Linked DNA regions of Homo sapiens: region 2 is linked to region 1. Evidence: promoter capture Hi-C in human tissues and cell types (Jung and others, 2019). All regions are on one chromosome and are shown on one strand. The core of a region is centred on a gene start or on the middle of the fragment in contact, and the rest is flanking DNA. Distances in the headings are between cores, read along the strand shown. Region 1 holds the start of SHISA7 (shisa family member 7). Region 2 holds the start of ZNF579 (zinc finger protein 579).

Region 1 (3,424 bases), core at 298-2,797:
CCGAATAGGTGGGGACGATGATTAGTCTCATTGTGCGGACAGGAAACTGAGGAACAGAGACGTTAAGCAACTCATCCACTGTCACATAGCCTGTAGGCTGTGAACTTGGATTTGGAAGTCAGGCTTTTCCACCAGGGCAGAGACCTTGTTTTGTTCACTGGTGTATCCCCAGCTCCTGGCCCACAGAAGGTGCTCAAGAAATATGTGTCGAATGAATGAGAGTCTGGGCTTCTCCCTCTCCCTGCATCACTCCGCAACAGCCGGGCCGGCTCTGGCGCGACTTTCTCAGCCCCTGCCCACCTTCAGCTACGCCGGCGGCCGCCACCTGGGTCTCTGACCACCACGCCCTATCCCTGCAGCCCCTCCTCCTCGGATGGCTCCACCTCCCTTGCTGGGCCCCGCCCCAGGCTCGCAGTCCTCCCGCCCGAGAGCACACGCACCTGGGCACGTTGATATCCCGGTGCGCCCGGGGCGCACGGGACGCCTTGCTGAAGGCCACTTTGGCGCCGACGCCCACGGCCAGGGCGAAGCTGATGACCCCGCACACGACGTAGGCTGTGCTGCCCCCGGGGCCCTCGCCCCCGCGGCCCCCGGCACCCCCAGTCCGGCCCCCTTCCAACCACCCGGCCTGGCCGGGCCCTGGCCCCCCGCCCGCACCCCCAGCGCCCCCGGCGCCCCCAGCTAGCGGCGGCGGCGTGGTGGCCCAGCGCGGCGTGTCGTAGTTGGAGCAGGAGGCCTGCGCCAGGCGCATGTGACGGTGCTCACAGCAGAAGCGGTAGTGGCAGGTGCCACAGCAGAAGCGGTAGGAGCCGGTGCTGCAGTTGAAGGTGGCGTCGTACTGGCCCATGACATCGTAGTAGCCGTGGCAGAGCTCGGCGGGAGGGGGCGCCCGGGCCGCCGCGCCCGCCCCGCCCGCGGGGCCGGTCCTGGTGCCGTTGGCGCCTGGGCTCGCCGCGCCCCCGCCGCCCGTCAGCGCCCCGGTCAGGCGCCGCAGGTGCGCCAGCAGGGCGGGCAGCGGGCCCGCGGGCTCGGCGCTCGTGGCGTTGGACGGGCGCGCCCTGGCCTGGCCGGCGCTAGAGGCCAGGAGTACGAGGAGCAGGAGGGCCGGCATGGGGCTTGCAGGGGGTCGCACTGGGCCGCCAGGCTGCGGGGAGAACGAGAGCAGAGGTTGGAGCGCTGGGCGGGAGAGAAACGGTCAGAGGGTGAGAAACGTAGAGATGGGTGGGCAGAGAGGCTGGGGAGGGCGGGCGGGGGGCGGCAGAGTGTGGGGAGCAACAGGCGCCAGGAGGCAGGAAGGGCGGAGGGAGCTGAGCTGCGTGGGCCCAAGTTGGCCGCCCCACGCGCGGTGGGCGACGATGGGAGAGTAATGGAAACGCGCCCGGGCACGGCTGGGGGAGAGAAATGAGCATGGGCGGACAGAACCGGGATCAGGCGAGAGATGAATGCGGGAGAAGCGATTGGGAGGGTCGACAGACACCAGAGGGGTGTGCAGACATTAGGACGAGGAGCGAGGCGAGGCGCGATGTAAGGAGAAGAAACGGGGGCGGCGAAGAGGAGAGGGCAGGGGAGGCAGCTGGAGGGAGGCGCGCGAAGGGGAGGGGAGGGTGGCGAGGGGAGTGGGGACCGCGGAGGGAGGGAAGGAAGCGAGACAGATGAGGGGTGGGTGGGAAAGGAGGAGTCAGGGAGACGGGGAAGGAGGGAGAAAAGAAGGGGAGGAGGAGGAGGGGGAGGAGAGGGAGGGAGGAGGAGAGAGAGAAGTTGAGAATTTGAGTTTATAGACCAGGCAAGTGGGAAGAGGCAGTGCACGGTTTTTCAACACTGACATTCGGGGACCGATGCTGCTTTGTGGTGAGCGCCTGTCCTGAGCGCTGTAGGATGTTTAGCAGCGCCCTCTCCATGCCAGCAGCACCACATTCCCCCGAGTTGTGACAATGTAAGATGTTTCCAGGCATTGCCAAATGTTCCCCTGGTGGGAGGAGGCCACAGCTGCCCCCGTGGAGAACCACTGACTTACACCCCTATGGTCCTCAGTGCCCCGAAATGCCAATTTCTCTCCCTTAGTTAGATCTGATAATCAAGGGATCTTAGGTGCCCTCCCTCCCTCCCTCTCTCTCCCTCTCTCTCTCTCTCTCCCTGGCATGCACACGCACACACACACCACTGTTACGGCGTCGGGTTTGAAGGGTCTCTGTCCACAGCTGAACCACAACCACAGCAGGGTGGTTCCCCTGCCGACTGGACCTCCTGCCAGCTGCCTGACACTGACAGGCTCTTATCTAAGCTCCCTGTGCCCCAAGTCCCCCATCTGTAAAATGGGGATAAGGATGGTTATCTCTGAGTGGTCAGGAGGATGAACTGAGGGAATATGTGTAAAGAGCTTAGAACAGTGCCTGGCATATTGCAGGTGAAATATGAAAGTGTTTGCTGCTGCTGCTATTTCAGAAGGGAGATACAGGCTGAGAAAGGGTCGTCCGGGTGCGGCGGCTCACGCCTGTAAATCCCAGCACTCTGGGAGGCCAAGGTGGGCAAATTGCTCAAGCAGGAGACCAGCCAGCCTCGCCAACACAGCAAAACCGTGTCTTTACAAAAAAAAAAAAAAAAAAAATTAGCCCGGCGTGGTCGTGCGCACCTATAGTCCCAGGTACTCAGGACGCTGAGGTGGGAGGATAACTTGAGTCCCAGAGATCAAGGCTGCTGGGAGCTGTGATTTCACCACCGCACTCCAGCCTGAGTTGACAGAGTGAGACCCTGTCTCAAAAGAGAGAGAAAAGGTGATGCAGAAGAGAGGTGGGAGTTGGTGGTGGTGGTGGTGGGCACGTCTTCCAGCTGTTTCTATGGCAACAGTCCAGCCAAGTCCCAGACACGCCCACCCCCGTGGACCTAGAGGGATGATAGAGGTGGGAAGGATGCCTGGCCTCGGGTTCCGGGAGAAGGAAACGTCTGAGCTCTACCTGCAGGAGGAACCCCCCAGGGGTCTGGGGTGACTGCCCACGGAGTCTTACATTTCCTCTCTGCAAGAACCTGATCTGAACAGCCCCTGCCCTGAGCTAGCTGCCGAGAGGCTGCCATAGAGCTTCCCAGGAGCAGGCATGATGCGCGGGGTGTGCATTCGTTCTGCAAATCTTCATTCAATAAATGTCTCCTGAGCAGCCTCCCTGGGCTGAGGATGCAGCAGTGAGTAAGCCCACAGGGTTCCTGCCTTTACGGGGGTTTACGTGCTAGTGAGGGGGGACAGTCAGCAGATGGACACAAATGAATGGGACACATGTTGACGCCAATTGTGAAGAAATAAAAAGGAATGATGAAGGAAGCCGTGAAGAAATGAAAGCAGCATAAAGGGATGGAGGGGGTGGATGGGATTGAGTCAATAAATATCACTCGGTGTTATTTTCTATTATATGCCACCATCCATCGTGTGTGTGTC
Region 2 (3,716 bases), core at 957-3,456, 140 kb after region 1:
CCCGCCGCGGGCAGCGGGGCCAGCAGGCTGAGGGGGCCGTGGACGCGGCGGTGCTGGCGGAGGTAGGAGGCGAGGCGGAAGGCCAGGCCGCAGTCTGGGCACACGAAAGGGCGGTCGGTGGAGTGGACCAGCCGGTGGCGCGACAGGGACCAGGGCCTGGCGAAGGCCTTGAGGCAGATGGAGCACTGGTGTCGCTTGGGGCGTGGCGGGGGCCCCCCTTCCCCTTCCTGTTCGCCCTCGGGGCGCAGACACGGGTGCGCCTTGAGCTCGCCCTTGGTGGCGAAGGCTTCGCGGCAGCGCAGACACAGCAGCGTCCAGTCTGCCTGGAGCAGGACCTGTTTCTCCTCCTGCCGCCCGGCCGCCAGCGCCAGCTCGGCCCTCAGCTCTGCTGCCCCGGCCTCGGCCTCCTCCGACTCCGACTCCCGGGGCTCCGCGGCGCTGGTGGGCGCAGCCAGCGTGGAAGGCTCCCCCGCAGGCCACGTCTCAGGCCACGCTGCGACCGCCTCCTCCTCCGTGGCCCCTGCTGCAGCGGTGGTGGGCGGCTCCGAGCCCTCGTCCTGCGGGCCCCAGCTGGGTTCGGCCGTCTCCTTGGCCACCCTCTCGATGGCCAGCTCGACCTCGCCGCCCGCGTGCTCCTGAGCCAGGTGGCGCCTGAGCTGGGCCGGTTCTGGGAAGGTGCGGGGGCAGGCGGCGCAGCGCAGCGGGGGCTGGGGCCCGTGGCCGCGCAGGTGGCGGGAAAGGTGGGCCGGCCGGCGGAAGGCCTTGGGGCACAGCGGGCAGGCGTGGGGCCGGAGCCCCGAGTGGCTCAGCCGGTGCCGGGAGAGGTAGTAGGGGAAACGGAAGAGGCGGCCGCAGGTGGGGCAGGGCAGGGGCGCCCTAGGGGCTCCAGCGCCCCCCCTGCCACGGCCACGGCCCCGACCACGGCCTCGGCCACGGCCCCGGCCTCGGCCACGGTGAGGTGGGCTGCCCTGGGCGGGTGGAGGAGGCTGCGGATCCATGCCTGTGGGGAGAGAGGGGAGAGATGGGAAGCGGGGCAGAGATAAAAAGAGGTGCGTGGGGTGTGGCAGAAAGAGAAGCAGAGACAGTCAGAGATGGAGAGGCAGAGAGGGTCAGGTATTTAGCCAGGAGAGAGATATGAGACAGAGACAAAGATGAGAGACACCGAGGGGAGGCCAGAGATGGAGAGACAGGAGGAGAGAGATCAGAGACAGAGCGACAGAGCAGGGAATAGAGACAGGAGAAGGCAGAGATGGGAGACACAGAGAAGTGGGGATGGACAGACAGAGACCAGGAGTCGCAGAAAGACAGGATGGTGAAAGGCAGAGCAGAGAAGAGACAGAGGAGAGTGAGGAACACCCAGCAGAGAGACAGAGACACAGAGAAGAGGAAACAAAGAGACTTGGAGAACCAGAGGCAGAGATAGTGCAAGAGCAGAGATCAGAAGAGCAGTGGCGGGTTGGGGGCCGGAGAGACAGGGAGACAGAGACACAGAGGGAGTGAACTGGGCAGAGGCACGGAGGGGGACAAAGTCAGCGAACCGCTTCTGCTCCAGGTCCCCCGGCCAGGCTGAACGTTTTGGGAGGGGCTGGGACACAGCCCATGGGGCCTGAGTGGAGGGGGTGGGATTTGAAGCCGGTAGGCCCCGGAAATAGAGTGTGTTCTCAGATGCCAGGGGCTGGGAGAGGTCGGGGAGTAGGAGGGTTCAGACTTCTGGTCTGAGTTGGGAGGGGGCTAGGGGCCCAGACTCTTGGGACTGATGGGGATGGGAGCTGGGGATTGAGACTCCTGGGTCCAGGTCATGACGGATTGGGGAATCTGGACTCTGGTATGGAGGAGGTGTGGATTCCTGGGTCCCGGTGGAGGAGGGGCTGGGGAGGGGGCTGGGCTCCCAGGACAAGGGGGAGGCGGGGGCTGGGGACCCAGCTGCCGGGAATCCCCAGGGAGGAGGCGACTGAGGGCCGGACCCCTGGACTCGGGAGGGAGGCTGGTGGGGGTCGGGGGTCCCAGGTCCTAGAGGGGGGCCGATCTCCTCCGGGCCAAGCCTGCAGCTCCCCGAAGGCATGATCAGCAGAATTGGGGCCGGGTCGAGGCCTTGAGGATTTCTCAGCCCTGGGCCTGGGGCTTGGTCCTGGTCGCTGGGGCTGGGTTCTTACCTCGCCTCCTTGGCTCCTTTCTTCCTTCCCCACGGCCGGCCAAACGCGGACGGTGGTGGCGGGGAGGGAGGGGGGCCTGAGCGTGGTGGGGGGTGGAGGAGGAGGCTGGGCTCGGTGTCACTGCCTAAGCCTTCCCCCCGGAAACCTGGCCTTTCCTCGGAGCCTGAAAGAGGAAAGACTGGCTGGGAAGCCGGAAGCGGGAGGACGGGGGACCTGGAGAGGGGAGGGAAGGCAGCTTGCACTACAGGGTCCTGTGAGGGGAGGGGGCTGGGGGCCTGTCCCCCGGGCTCCCAGAGGGCGGAGGGTGCTGAGGGCCTGGAACACTGGGTCCAGCTACTCCCGGCTCCCCAACATGCACACACACATATTCATTCATTCCTTCAACAAATACACATTTATCAGGTCCTGTCTGTGCCAGGCACTGTGTCAGGCCAGGGGAGTGGCCGGGGGAGGAAGATGAATGAATCAGTGACAGAGGCTTCAGGAAGTACTGGCACTCTGGATCAGAACCTGGCTCCAGCCTTCCCTTGGCTGTCTGGGTGAAGGATTCTCCCACTTCGAGCCTCGGTTTCCCCCTTTGTGAAAGCCCCTGCATATACTCATTCAACCCTAAGCGACCAATATTTACTGAATATCTACTACGGGCCAGCCTGCATATATTTGTCTACATATACGCATATTCACTGGGACCTTAGCAGCCAATGTTTACTGAGCACCTACTATGGGCTGGTGCTGTCCTTGGTGCTGGAGTCACAGTGGCAAAAACCGGAGCTCACTGTCTGATGGGGAAGGCAGATAGATACGGATCAATCACGCTGGAGTGCATGTGGGGGAACGTGTGCTCCGAGGCAGGGAACTGCTATGGGAATGCAGAGAACAGAAGGCACTGAGCTGAGCTCACACTGGGAGGAGGTGATTCCTGAGGTCTTCCTGGAGGCAGCAATGTTTCAGCTGAAATTGGCAGAATGAAACCAACCTGGCGACATCTCAGAAACCTATTCTGGAGCAGAAAAGGCATTTTGCAGGAGTATACCCACAGCTTGACGCTGTTTGTTTAAGGTTACATTCCTGCCAAACAGTGCTAATGAGAGTGCGAGCAAACAGGTCCTTTCATACACGGCTGGGGCAAGTAGAACCTGGAACATTCTTACCGAGCCAGCAATTCCAGGAATTTATTCTTCAGAGGCATCTACTCGGAACTGCACAAAATAATGTCTGCACCAGGTTAATCATTGCAGTACTGCACATCACTGCAAACAGCTGAAACCAATCTAAACACCCATCTGTAGGAGAGCTGAGTAATAAATCATGACTGATCCACCCAGTGGAATACTAGGTGTCCATAGAAAAGAACAAAGAAGCTCACCGTGTGCATATATGGTAAGTCTCCAAGTGATAACCTGTAGAAGAGAAAAATGGAAGGTCAAGTACAGCCTGCAGCCTGTTCTGGGTTTGTGTGTGTTCTGGGATTGTGTCCAGATGAACTGGAACAAGAGAGAAGAAACTGAAACTGGCAACATAGTCTAACTTCCAGGACAGAAATTTACTACACTCTATCCTTGT

The links. The method cuts DNA at HindIII sites, captures the fragments that hold promoters and counts their contacts. A contact is called where the count stands out against the background at its distance.
Region 2: the fragment with the promoter of ZNF579 here is called in contact with the fragment with the promoter of SHISA7 in region 1 in 3 of the 25 tissues and cell types used here (heart right ventricle, psoas muscle and spleen).

What each region holds. Positions count from the first base shown.
Region 1 is chr19:55,441,753-55,445,176 of GRCh38, forward strand. SHISA7 (shisa family member 7) reads right to left here and starts at 1,548. Exons shown (of 4, transcript NM_001145176.2): 1 at 441-1,548. The coding sequence starts at 1,111. RefSeq lists an enhancer at 240-868 and a silencer at 362-451. The HindIII fragment of the contact is 24,914 bases long and covers 1-3,424 here.
Region 2 is chr19:55,578,642-55,582,357 of GRCh38, forward strand. ZNF579 (zinc finger protein 579) reads right to left here and starts at 2,207. Exons shown (of 2, transcript NM_152600.3): 1 at 2,154-2,207; 2 at 1-1,000. The coding sequence starts at 998. RefSeq lists silencers at 2,411-2,550, 3,262-3,556. The HindIII fragment of the contact is 17,237 bases long and covers 1-3,716 here.